2 separate regions of the Homo sapiens genome follow, and region 1 is linked to region 2. The links are contacts of gene promoters, found by promoter capture Hi-C in human tissues and cell types (Jung and others, 2019). All regions are on one chromosome and are shown on one strand. The core of a region is centred on a gene start or on the middle of the fragment in contact, and the rest is flanking DNA. Distances in the headings are between cores, read along the strand shown. Region 1 overlaps MCM10 (minichromosome maintenance 10 replication initiation factor). Region 2 holds the start of UCMA (upper zone of growth plate and cartilage matrix associated).

The links. Contacts are between HindIII fragments. The study calls those that stand out against the background at their distance.
Region 1: a fragment that was not itself captured here is called in contact with the fragment with the promoter of UCMA in region 2 in 2 of the 25 tissues and cell types used here (ovary and stomach).

Annotation. Positions count from the first base shown.
Region 1 is chr10:13,190,622-13,197,017 of GRCh38, forward strand. MCM10 (minichromosome maintenance 10 replication initiation factor) reads left to right here. Exons shown (of 20, transcript NM_018518.5): 11 at 678-778; 12 at 1,634-1,744; 13 at 1,830-1,947; 14 at 4,420-4,648. Among named protein-coding and RNA genes, the nearest start is that of MCM10, 32 kb to the left of the region's middle. The HindIII fragment of the contact is 3,146 bases long and covers 346-3,491 here.
Region 2 is chr10:13,232,951-13,240,158 of GRCh38, forward strand. It overlaps UCMA (upper zone of growth plate and cartilage matrix associated), which reads right to left and starts at 1,424. Exons shown (of 5, transcript NM_145314.3): 1 at 1,251-1,424; 2 at 785-850; 3 at 588-683. The coding sequence starts at 1,308. RefSeq lists an enhancer at 1,127-2,037. The HindIII fragment of the contact is 17,086 bases long and covers 1-7,208 here.

The sequences.
Region 1 (6,396 bases), core at 669-3,168, 42 kb before region 2:
GCTGCAGTGAGTCAGGATTGCTCCACTGTACTCCAGGCTGGACAACAGAGTGAGATCTTGTCTCAAAAAAAAAACCCCAAACTGTTAGTTCCTTGGTATATATACTCCTAGGTGTTGTGTTTCTTCATATGTGTACATTTTTAGTAATATAAAATGAGATCATATTGTTCCTATTCTTTGTATCCACTTTTTTTCCAGTGTAAAATAATTAATGTTTTTCTCATGTATTTTCAGTGGCTACATAGTGTTCTTTTGCATACTCTGCCTTAATTCATTTAAACAATTCCCTGTGGGTGAACGTTAATGGTGTTTCCAATGTATGACATTATAAACAAAGCTGCCATTAATATCCTAAATTTTTGCATAATCCTTAATTATTTTAAGATAAATATCCAGACTGCTGGATCAAAGCATTGGCTTTTTTTTTATTTCTTTTGCCAAATTTCCTTCCAGAATGGCCTCAAGTGGATTTGTAGGCTGCCTCTAGCTTTTCCTCTGTGACACAGTGCATAAACCAGTTATGCTATTGGGCCGTAACATTAAGAAAGCCTACTTAGATGGTGTTTTGAGAAACTTTGACGGTGTGTGTAATAAATGATGATATCTATGCCTTCTTTACCTCATCAGAGCATTGAGGCTTTAGTGATTCTCCTTTTGGGGGTGACTTGTCATTTCAGTGCAGCAGCTGTGGCTCCTAAGAAGAAGATTCAAACCACTCTGAGTAATCTGGTTGTTAAGGGCACAAACTTGATCATCCAGGAAACACGGCAAAAACTCGGTAACTTTGTTTTTCCATAAGAAATTTCTTTCTCCAGTTTAATTATGCAGCCTTAGGGATAAAAGACTACACATTGGGTACAGGGTACACTGCTCCGGTGATGGGTACACCAAAATCTCAGAAATCACCACTAAGAACTTATTCATGCACAAAAATAAATAAATAAGCAAGCAAGCAAGCAAGCAAGCAAGCAGTCTTTAGGGTTGAAAATGGATACAGCTCATACTCTTAAGTAATAAGAATCCAGTCATCACCTGTACTTAGTGAGTGGCGCGGTCTAACCTAAAGGAATCAAGCCAGGTTTGCAGGACCTTAAGGAAAAAAACAGCATATTGATTTTAGCTATGTCTTACCTTAGTATGCTTTTTAAAATTTCTTGGTGTATCTGGGTCCAACTCTTTACATCCAGCATTAGAATCAGCAGTATTATCTTCCTGGCCAAGCTTATTGGTTATCTTTTGTTAAAATGGGTCTTGGTCATAAAAACAAAAAAATTTTTAATAAAATAAAAACAAATAAAAACAAGTCTTGATCAGAGAATGCAGCCCCCATCCTGGGCTTGTGGTCAGGGACCCTTATCCTTAGCGGATATTCCAGAAACAGGGTATGGAATGACCCCCAGATTTAAGGGCTTAATATTCTAATCATTACTAGAAATAAAATATAGTCGAGATACCCTGCCATCCTATGAGTCTGATGATAGAGGTTAAGGATTCTTTTCTTTCCTCTTGGGATTCCGTCTTCTTCGTTTACGTATGACTAAAATTACAAGTGCAGAGTTTAGAAAGTGGTATGTCATATGACCTCAAACCATCTGAATGTGAATCCTCTAAAGCTGGTGTTGACCTGGCACAGGAATACCCCAGAAGAGCCTGTCTTGCTCTGAGGAGTTCAAGGAACTGATGGACCTGCCGACGTGTGGAGCCAGGAACTTAAAACAACATTTAGCCAAAGCCACAGCTTCAGGTACCATCAGCTGCATGGCCACACGTGTGTCCCTGTGTTCCCTCAGCCTCCCAGGGCACCCCCTCAGTCTGGGCTTCTGTTTCAGGGATTATGGGGAGCCCAAAACCAGCCATCAAGTCCATCTCGGCCTCAGCACTCTTGAAGCAACAGAAGCAGCGGATGTTGGAGATGAGGAGAAGGAAATCAGAAGAAATACAGAAGCGGTAAGAGGAGCAGATTTAATATTCCCCGCTTGGGTCATCCATCTCAGGCGTCCTCAGAACGTCTTCATCGATTTCCAGAATGTGACTTCAGGTTTCGGTTGGCTGCGTTTTAACTCTGAAAGTTTAAAATAGTTTTCCCATAACCTGAATAGCATTTAAGGCTGTATTATTTCTTACACTGGTGACTCCCAACACCAAATGGTACAGGTTAGAGTCGTTATCACCATGGAAAAGGGAAAGGAGTGAAGTGTATGTAAAGAGGGTTTTTGTGAAGGGGGAGAGCGTAGGTTCACATGCTGGCTGTCATTTTCTCTCTCTCTCTCTTTTTTTTTTCTGAGACGGGTTTTCACTCTGTCACCCCAGCTGAAGTGCAATGCTGCAGTGTCGGCTCACTGCAACCTCCATGTCCCAGGCTCAAATGATCCTCCTGCCTTGGCCTCCCAAGTAGTTGGGACTACAGGCATGTGCCACTATGCTTGGCTAATTTTTGTATTTTTTTATAGAGACTGGGTTTTGCCATATTGCCCAAGCTGGTCTCAAATTCCTGGACGCAAGCCTGGATTTGCCTGGCTGCCATTTCTGGGTTTTGCCGCAATTCAGTTTTTTATGACAGGCAGAGCCAGTGAGTAGAATACAGTTCTTTGGATAAAGGACAAAACTGAAGCACTAAAAATGGAGAGTCATTTTAGAGGCAAAAGCAAGTGGAAATGTGTTACTTGGCTTCAGCCAATAATTAAAAAAAAAAAAAATCAAGTGGAAATGCATAGGGTAGGTGGACAAATGAATGATTCCTGAACTCAGGTCACCTGAATACTAATGAGAGCTGCGGTTCACAGGCACTTCATACGTACTCCATAAACACAGTATCTGAGCCTCCGGAGGCTTCTCAGCCTTGTTTTACTAATAGTGTGCCTGGAGATCAGAGAGCTAGTTTATGGTGGGGCCGAGTTTTGGGCTCACACATGTTGTGCTCTGGTGCTGAACCTTTTGCCATCCCGAATCTGGGCTGCTGAAAGGCAACCACATCCATGAAAGGGAGTCAATGATAAGACAAGAGGAAATTCTTTGGGAAAGTAAGAGAATGGGTTTGGTCTCAGGCAGATTAGTTTGAAGTGCCGGTGGGATATCTATAGAGCTATTCATCTTGAGCCTACAGATGACATAAATTATATACGTGGACACAGAAATATGTATGGAGTTGGGGGCCTCGTGGGAAATAGAGAATGCCCATCAGCTTGAAGGCATTGCGTAATGAAAATTTTCAGAATTTTGTTGGCCAAGGAAACCTTATCTTTGCGTAGGATTTGATAGGCAGTTTGCAAACACAGCCTAGAGCTTGCAAGAGTGGCTGTGCGGTTGGGAAGAGTACTGCTCTGGGATGGCCTGGCTCTAATCCTGAGTCTGGCCCTTGTGAGTAATGTGATCCTAGGCCTCAGTTTCTTCATCGATCAAATGAGAAGTTTGGACTAGATGATTTCTGGGGTTTGTTATTTGTTTTTAAATATCTCTTATGAGGCTGGCTTGGTGGCTTATGTCTGTAATCCTAGCACTTTGGGAGGCCGAGGCAGGCAGATCGCCTGAGCCCAGGAGTTTGAGACCAACCTGAGCAAAATGGCGAAATCCTGTCTCTACAAACAGTACAAAGATTAGCTGGGCATGGTGGTGCACACTGTGGACCCAGCTACTCGGGAGGCTGAGGTGGGAGGATCACCTGAGCCTGGGAGGCAGAGGTGGCAGCGAGCCGCAATCGTGCCAACGCACTCTAGTCTGGGTGACAAAGCAAGACCCTGTCTCCAAAAACAAAAGTAAAATAGCTCTTAAAACTATTTTTTGCCAGGCATGATAGCTCACGCCTATAATCCCAACACTTGGGAGGCTGAGGCACGAGAATCACTTGAACCTGGGAGGCAGAGGTTGCAGTGAGCCAAGATCATGCCACTGCACTCCAGCCTGGGTGACACAGCGAGACTCTGTCTCAAAAAAATCAAAAAAAAGAAAGGGGATGTAAAATAATCGCTGCAAGTTACAGTGTTTTTCATTAATGACTTCCAAATGTCTCACATGTATTGTCTCTTCCCAGTAGCATAAACAAAGATGCAGGGAGGTGCAATGAGTTCCTACAGGCCCTAGAGCTGACGGTAGGGGTGGGAATACAGTTCACACCGCGTCTTCAGCTGTGTTCCTTGTGGATGACATCCACTGGACAGCCAATTGATAAAAACAGTTATCAGTTCTAAAGTGTTAGGACAATTACAGCTTATTCAAAGAAAACTCAATTAAGGAGGAGTTAGTAAAGCTAGTATTGTTCTTATCGTGTGCAAATTTGAATTACCAGCCTAGAAGGGGACATTATTTTGCTAACAACTAGCTCCCAACTGGTGGCCTGCCTGCCGCCTCCCAGTCCACTTTGAGTTCTAGAGTTTTTATTTTCGTAAACCCTGTTTGCGTATTTTGACTGTATGTTCTTTAAAGATTTCTGCAGAGCTCAAGTGAAGTTGAGAGCCCAGCTGTGCCATCTTCATCAAGACAGCCCCCTGCTCAGCCTCCACGGACAGGATCCGAGTTCCCCAGGCTGGAGGGAGCCCCGGCCACAATGACGCCCAAGCTGGGGCGAGGTGTCTTGGAAGGAGATGATGTTCTCTTTTATGATGAGTCACCACCACCAAGACCAAAACTGAGTGCTTTAGCAGAAGCCAAAAAGGTAACTGGCATCTCTTCTCTTTAGCACTTGAGTTTGCATTCTGTAGAGCAGAGCTGGAGGAAAGACAGACACCTAATAGCTCTTTATTGATCGTGATCATTAGAGTCAGTGTAATTTGAAAACATGGTAGTGTCAACATAATACTAAAAGAAAGTTAGATCTGTTATCTCAACACTTTTTCTTGTCAGGCTACAAGAGGTAGCCTAGAGGAAGATAGTGTTTTATAACCAGAGGCATTGACAGTAGGAAAACAATGCTTGGAATTGTTGAGGTGAGACTGTAAAATGGTGGTTTAAGGAATCCTTTTTTTACGTTTATTTATTTATTTATTTATTTATTTATTTATTTATTTATTTTTTGAGAAGGAGTCTCACTCTGTCACCCAGACTGGAGTGCAGTGGCGCAATCTCGGCTCACTGCAACCTCCTCCTCCCAGATTCAAGCGATTGTCCTGCTTCAGCCTCCCGAGTACCTGGGACTACAGGCGCCTACCACCACGCCCGGCTAATTTTTAGTAGAGACATGGTTTCACCATGTTGGCCAGGCTGGTCTCGAACTCCTGACCTCAAATGATCTGTCCACCTCGGCCTCCCAAAGTACTAGGATTATAGGTGTGAGCCACCATGCCTGGCGGTTTTATTTTTTATTTGTTGAGACAGACTATCCCCCTGTCACCCATGCTAGAGTGCAGTGGTGCAATTATGGTTCACTGCAGCCTCAACCTCCCAGGATCGATTCATCCACCTGCCTCAGCCTCCCAAGTAGTAGCTGGGACTGCAGGCACATGCCACCACGCCTTGGCTAATTTTTGTATTTTTTGTAGAGATGGGGGCCTCCCTTTGCTGCCCAAGCTGGTCTTGCACTCCTGGACTCAAGCAGTCCCACCTCAGCCTCCCAAAGTGCTGGGACTACAGGCATGAGCCACTGTGCCTAACCAAGAATCCTTTAAAAGAAATCTTACACAAAAGTCCAGTCCCATGACAGGTGAAAGCTGAGTTGCTGCGGCTGAAGTAGGGGTAGGGCACCCAGAGCCCCACCTGCCCACTTCCTGAGTGCCCCAATCGAGCCTCTCTCTTCCCTTAAGTTAGCAGCTGCAGCCAAATGAAGGGCAAAGCTTGCTGTATGCCAAAACCTTACCTATAATAATAACAACAGGAATACCTACAATAACCATGGCACATGTCCATATTACTCAGTACTTGTGATATGTGTGTGCCATGTATTTACTATGTTTATTTATTTATTTATATATATATTTTTTGAGATGGAGTCTCGCTCTGTCACCCAGGCTGGAATACAGTAGTCCGATCTCGCCTCACTGCATCCTCTGCCTCCTGGGTTCAATCAATTCTCTTGCCTCAGCCTCCCGAATTGCTGGGATTACAGGTGCCCACCACCATGCCTGACTAATTTTTGTATTTTTAGAAGAGACAGGGTTTCACCATGTTGGCCAGGCTGGTTTCGAACTCCTGACCTCAAGTGATCCACCTGCCTCAGCCTCCCAAAGTGCTGGGATTACAGGCATGAGCCACTGCGCCCGGCCAGGAATGTATTTGCTATGTAAAGATTCATACTTTGCAGATATTATCTTATTTCATCCATACAACCATGACCTTCAAAGGTAGGTCAATGCTATATCATCATTTCCTTCTCTTTTTTTGTGTGTTTGTTTTGAGACAGGGTCTCACTCTGTCTCCCAGGCTGGTGTACAGTGGTGCAATCACAGCTCACTGAAACCTCCATCTCCC
Region 2 (7,208 bases), core at 174-2,673:
AAAAACCTCTGCTGGCTGAACACAGCTCTTTCAGAGGCTTATAAATAAGGAAATTAGGACCAGAGGGAGGAAGTAGCCAAGGCCACTTAGCAGCACAGCTGTCCCCAGACCCACATTTCTCAGCACCCAGTGTCCTGTGCCTTCCCCATGTGCGATGCTGTTGCTCTTATACAGAAGGTGTGCTGGACCAGTACCCGCAAAGCACACACTGATGTGTGGGTCGCCTCCAGACCAGAATATAGATTTCCCTCCCTACACCTTTCTGAAATCCAATGCATCTTATCCCTGTTAGGTGTGTTTAATGTAGCATCATGGCCAAGAAGCAGGACAAGAGGACCTGTCTCCAAGTCATCTTTGCAGAGGTGGGGCCTCCTAACCCTGACAAAGTATTCAATCCAATATACGACCTACAGTCAGGAAATAGGGTGTAATTTCTCATTCAGAGCTGCAGTCCCTTTGATACCCTGGGGTGAGCCCTTCGTGCCCAGCTGCATCCTGCTGCCCGGCTGACTGTGGGAGAGGAGGAGCCGGGGGGTGTGAGCAGAGGTGGTGATGGACGCGGGATGGGGTCCCTCCAGCATCCTTACCATTGACCTCATCTCTGGACTTGGGGGACCGCTTGCCGCGCCTCTTGAGGAAATTCGAGGCATCTGATTCCTGCATGAAAATCTTCTGTTTTGCATCTGAAACCCGGGAGAGGCCTGTCACCAGCAGTGTGGGGGTGCTGGGGCTGCTGCTTCGCTGGCTGCACCTGCCCTGCCCCGTGGGTGGCCCCTGCACTCACCTTCACTCGCCTCTTCTCCCGCCATCTGCATGGTGCCCACAGATACACTGGTTCCCTCTCTCAGCACTGCAGGACAAGGGCACAGAGTGAGGCTGCAGCATCAGAGGGGAGCCCAGACCCTGAGCTGAGTCCCCATCTCTCTTTCCAGGCTAAGCGTCCTGCCAGGGCCTGGCAGGGGGCCCGTGGTTTCTCACGTACCAGCTGCAGAGCCAATCTCCCCAGGAACCCACCAAGCAAGCTGGCTTGGGTTTTTTTTCTATTTTGTTTCTTTCTTTACTGTTTTTTATTATTATTATTATTTTTCTGTATTGCATTGTGTCCTACATGCACACGACACACACATACACACATGTTAACAATAAGCATACTCCTTTCTACCTGCATCACCTGAGCAGCCTTACCTGTGCATGGTAAGTCTCCCTTACCATGTAACTAACACCCTCCACCTTGACCCTCCTGTACTCACTAGACAGGAGCACCACGGCGGAGAAGCAAGACAGCAGGACGGCCTGTCTCCAAGTCATCTTTGCAGAGGTAGGGGCTCCGTCCAGGACCCACAAGGCAGACCAGGCGTCCTGCACCCTTTGGGTCCCCACTTCTGAGGCAGGCAGCCCAGGCGAGAGGAAGGAAGGCGGGGGAGGGAAGAGAGAGGCAGGAGGCTGGGATACCACTGGGGGAGAGGAGGAGGGGGCTGGGCTGCCCTTTCCATTGGCTGCTCCTAGATGGAGCAACGGAGATGTTTTTGGCACCTGGCAAATGTCTCCAGAAGCAGAGCTTGTAGTTAGGGCCCTGGGTGGGACGGTCTTGGAGTGGCCTTTCCAATGTCCGTGTCTGGGGATCTGCTGCTGGGAAGGCTCATCCTAACAGTCAGGGTTCCAGTGACCAAGGCCTGTGTCAAGGAGGTCCTGGCACCTGCTCCAGGGACGTTAGGGCCCCGGTCCTCAGGGTTGAAGCATGGGTGGGGGCAAGGAGGAAGAGAGGATCAATGGGGGAGTTTTGATCTAAATGTCAGTCAAGAAGGGCTCATAATGACTGGAATACCCATCAGGGTGACACACAGACGTGTGGGTCATGCTGACAGCGACCAGAGAACACCTTACCTGATGCACTGCTTCCAGCTGATGCTCACTGCCAAGCCAAACACAAACTCCTGGGGCCGCGGGTCCCAGAGCCCTTTAAAGTCAATTGCCTTCCCGCGGTGGCTCATGCCTGGAACCCCTGCACTTTGGGAGGCCGAGGCAGGCAGATCACCTGAGGTTAGGAGTTCGAGACCAGCCTGGCCAACACGGTGAAACCCTGTCTCTATTAAAAATAAAAATAAACAAATTAGCCGGGCATGGTGGCGGGCGTCTGTAATCCCAGCTACTCAGGAGGCTGAGGCAGGAGAATCACTTGAACCCGGGAGGCAGAGGTTGCAGTGAGCCGAGACCGCGCCACTATACTCCAGCTGGGGTGACAGAGCAAGACTCAGTCCCAAAAAAAAAATACATATAAAATAAAATAAAATAAAAATTTAAAAGTTAAAAACAGCGGCCGGGCACGGTGGCTCACGCTTGTAATCCCAGCACTTTGGGAGGCAGAGGTGGGCGGATCATGAGGTCAGGAGATCGAGACCACGGTGAAATCTCGTCTCTACTAAAAATACAAAAAAAATTAGCCGGGCGTGGTGGCGGGCACCTGTAGTCCCAGCTACTCAGAGAGGCTGAGGCAGGAGAATGGCGTGAACCCGGGAGGCAGATCTTGCAGTGAGCCGAGATTGCACCACTGCACTACAGCCTGGGTAACAGAGCGAGACTCCATCTCAAAAAAAAAAAAAAAAAAAAAATTTAAAAACAGCAAGGCCAAATTCAATCACCTTCCACAGCGGAGGGGGAGAAGGGCAGGTATCTGAAAAGCTCCACAGCTAATCCTGCATCTCTAGGAAGACACACATCATACTCCATGTAGGGGAGGAAATGGGTTCCCAGAAATGGGACCACTAATGAAATCAGCACCAACATGGCCATTAGAGCTCAGTCCCCTTGGAGATGTGTTCCTAATGTTGCCTTTGTTAGGAACCATCAACTCTTTGCTGTCAGCCTTCTGGCATCGTTTAATGTTTGTCTAATGGGAACCATCACTAGACCTAGAACCCAGCCCATACCTACCTGAAGCTCCCCTCTTACAAGACTTTTATGTTAGCTAGGCAAAGTGGCTCAAGCCTGAAATCCCAGCCCTTTGGGAGGCCGAGGCAGGAGGCTCACTTGAGGCCAGGGGTTGGAGATAAGCCTGGGCAACATAGCGAGACCCCCATGTCTATTTAAAAAAAGAAAGACTTTCAGTCGGGCGCAGTGGCTCATGCCTGTAATCTCAGCACTTTGGGAGGCTGAGGTAGGTGGATCAGTTGAGGCCAGGAGTTCTAGACCAGCTTGGCCAATATGGCAAAACCCCATCTCTACTAAAAATACAAAAATTACCCAGGCGTGGTGGCATGAACCTGTAATCCCAGTTACTCAAGAGGCTGAGGCAGGAGAATCGCTTGGACCCAGGAGGCAGAGGTTGCAGTGAGCCGAGATTGCGCAACTGCACTCCGGCCTGGGTGACAGAGCGAGACTTTGTCTCAAAAAAATAAAAAAAGGCCGGGTGCAGTGGCTCATGCCTGTAATCCCAGCAGTTTGGGAGGCCAAAGTAGGTGGATCACCTGAGGTCAGGAGTTTAAGACCAGCCTGGCCAACATGGTGAAACCTTGTCTCTACTGAAAATACAACAATTAGCTGGGCGTGGTGGTGGGCACCAGTAATCCCAGCTATTCAGGAGGCTGAAACATGAGAATTGCTTGAACCCGGGAGGTGGAGGTTGCGGTGAGCTGAGATCGCACCATTGCACTCCAGCCTGGTCAACAAGAGCGAAACTCCATCTAAAAAAAAAAAAAAGAAAGAAAAGAAAAGAAAGACTTTCATGTTTACATCCCTCATGGACTTTACCGTCGTCCAGGAAAAGAATGTTAAGGCAGAAAAATAACTGAGACAGAGTAAACAAAATAAAGGGTTGGTTTCCAGTGGAAGAAAATGGGGTTGATGGCTATGCTGGCTGGCCCTACGTGGGCTCCCCTGGGATACTGGCTGGCCTGCACTGAACATGGGAGCAAGGGCTCTACATGGCTGAACGAATGCATGAGGACAGAGCCACAGGGCTCATCTATCAAATGAACTGGATGTCACTGGGAGAGGGGAGGGACAGACACAGGGCTGAGCGATTTTGATGGGACGTCCAGTGAGAAAGCGGACATGTGACAAACCCGTGACATCCTCCATACCCTAAGTCCACTTGTGCCTTTTTAATTCTATTTGTTTCAGCCACAAACTTGTATTGAACACCTGCTGCCATGCACCAGGCACCTGTGCCCGTCACTGGCGAGTCAGCCTTGGGTAAATCATTTTTAAAATTTTTTCAGCTGGGCGTGGTGGCGCATGCCTATAATCTCAGCACTTTGGGAGGCCGAGGCAGGCAGATCACCTGAGCTCAGGAGTTTGAGACCACCCTGGGCGACATGGTGAAACCCCATCTCTACTAAAATACAAAAAATTAGCTGGGCGTGGTAGTGTATGCCTGTAGTCCCAGCTACTTGGGAGGCTGAGGCAGGAGAATTGCTTGGGCCCCGGAGGCAGAAGTTGCAGTGAACCGAGATCATGCCACTGCACTGCAGCTTGGGCTACAGAGTGAGACTCCATCTAAAAAAAAAAAAAAAAAAAAAATTCGTAGAGACAGGGTTTCACCATGTTGTCCAGGGTAATCTGATGTCTGACCTCAAGCAATCCCCCTCCTTGGCCTCCCGAAGTGCTGGGATTACAGGCGGGAGCCACCGCGCCCAGCCTACCTGAGATTCCTAGTGGCTACACTGATCTGCTCCAAGCAGCGTTCTGACCATAGCTGGTTTCCGCAACCTGTCAGTGCCTTATAACTTTCTCTCCGTCTAGACCATGGGCATTCATTTTCCATATGTTTCCACCTTCAGCTGCCCCTGCCCTCGGGCTGCCCACCAGGGCTGGATGTGCTGCAGAAGTGGCCTCCTCGTGACATTAGACCCCAAAGAACAACATGCCACCTCACCTCATGGCAAAGGCATAATTCTAGTGGCTGTGGGAAGAAGAGAAGAGTGCTGGATTTGATGTCAGAAGACCTGATTTAAACCCCACAAGTGGCCAGGAGCAGTGGCTCATGCCTGTAATCCCAGCACTTTGGGAGGCCGAGGCAGGTGGATCACGAGGTCAGGAGATCGAGACCATCCTGGCCAACATGGTGAAACCCTGTCTCTACTAAAACAAACAAACAAACAAACAAACAAACAAAAATTAGCTTGCGTGGTGGCGTGTGCCTGTAATCCTAGCTACCTGAGAGGCTGAGGCAGGAGAATCACTTGAACCCGAGAGGCAGAGGTTGCAGTGAGCCAAGATCATGCCACTGCACTCCAGCCTGGGCGACAGAGCGAGACTCCGTCTCAAAAACAAACAAGCAAAAAAACACACAAGTACTGTACACTGAATCTGTCCAAAGACATATCCTTTGAGATTTCTCTTTTTTCTGTTTTCTCCATCTCTGTGAATGAGCTCACTGTTCATCCCCAGCTACTCAAACTAGAAGCTCCGGAGTCATCGGAAATGCACAGCCTCGCCCCTCACAGCCCAGCTCCTTAGTCCTCAGACCCTGGTGACTCTATTGCTTACATCTTTTGAAATGCCCTCTGCTCTTGCCGGTCCCCTTGCTCCTGCCTTTCTCAGACACCATTGCTCTCCCGGATGATGGTGACAGCCTTGTCTAAGCTGAGGCTTAGACCCTCCATGTCGCTGGGAGGATGGTCTTCCTGAACAACTTTCAGGTCAGTTCCCTGCTTAAAATCACTCCACGGTTCATTATTGTGTCGCGTTAGCTAACATGTATGCAATGCTCAGGACGTGCCAGGTGACATTCAAGGACTTTGGGTGCATTGACTCTAATCCTCACTTCCATCCTTGTGACAGAGGAGGGGATTAAGGTACAGACAGGTAGAGCGACTTGCTCAAGGCCATGCAGCTGGGCAAGTCCAGGGCTGAGACTGAACCCGGGGTAGCCTGGCCCCGGGTCTGTGTCATAACTGTCATACTGCACCGTCTCACAGAGATGAAGACCAGCTCCCTCCTACCTCCTCCCCTCCACGGGCTCCTGTGCGCTGGAATACAGAGCTGCCTGCAGTTCTTCAAGAAGGCCTCACTTCTCTGGGCCTTTTGACAATGTTTTCCATTCCAGGAGGGTTTTGGGAACCCTTGTCCTTCAAGTTAATCTCAGCCATCACCTCCTCTTTGAAGTCTGCCTGAATACCATGCCCTTGACCCATATAGATGAGTATCATGAAGCTGTTTTTACATTTTGTAATGTATGTATATGTATAAATGTATATTTTTGTGACTTTTTGAGATACAATCAACATACCATGCAATTCACCCATTTAAAGTGTGTACCATTCGGCCAGTCGCGGTGACTCACCCCTGTAATCCCAGCACTGTGGGAGTCCGAGGCGGGTGGATCACCTGAGGTCAGGAGTTCAAAACCAGCCTGGCCAACATGGTGAAACCCCGTCTCTACAAAAATACAAAAATTAGCCGGGCACGGTGGTGTGCACCTGTATTCCCAGGATTATTATTTTTTCTCAAAAAATAAATAAAGTATACCATTCAATGGTTTTTAGTATATTCACAAAATTGTGCAACCGTTACCACAATCGATTTTAGAACATTTTTATCACCTGAAAAAGAAACCCCATACAAATTAACAGTCACTCCTCATTTTTCCTAACCTCAAAGCCTTAGACAATCACTCTTCTTTGGTTTGTCTCTGGGGATTGGCCTATTCTAGACATTTCATGTAAATAGAATCCTAAAATCTGTGGCCTTTTGTGACTGGTTTTCTTTCACTCAGCATAATGTTTTCAAGGCACATCCAGTTGCAGCATGCATCCATACCGCATCTTTTTTTTTTTTTTTTTTTTTTTGAGATGGAGTTTTCCTCTTGTCACCCAGGCTGGAGTGCAATGGCACAAGCTTGGCTCACTGAAACCTCCGCCTCCTGGATTTAAGCAATTCTCCTGCCTCAGCCTCCTGAGTAGCTGGGACTACAGGCACCCGCCACCAAGCCTGGCTAATTTTTGTATATTTGGTAGAGACAGTGTTTCACCATGTTGGCCAGGCTGGTCTTGAACTCCTGACCTCAGGTGATCCACCCACTTCACCCTCCCAAAGTGCTGGGATTATAGGCGTGAGCCACTGCACCCGGCATCCTCATCCCTTTTTATGGCTGAAAAATACTCCATTGTACGGATATACCACATGTTTATCCATTCATCAGCTGATGGACTTTGGGTTGTTTCCATCCTTCGGCAATCATGGATAATGCTGATGTGCACATTTGTGTA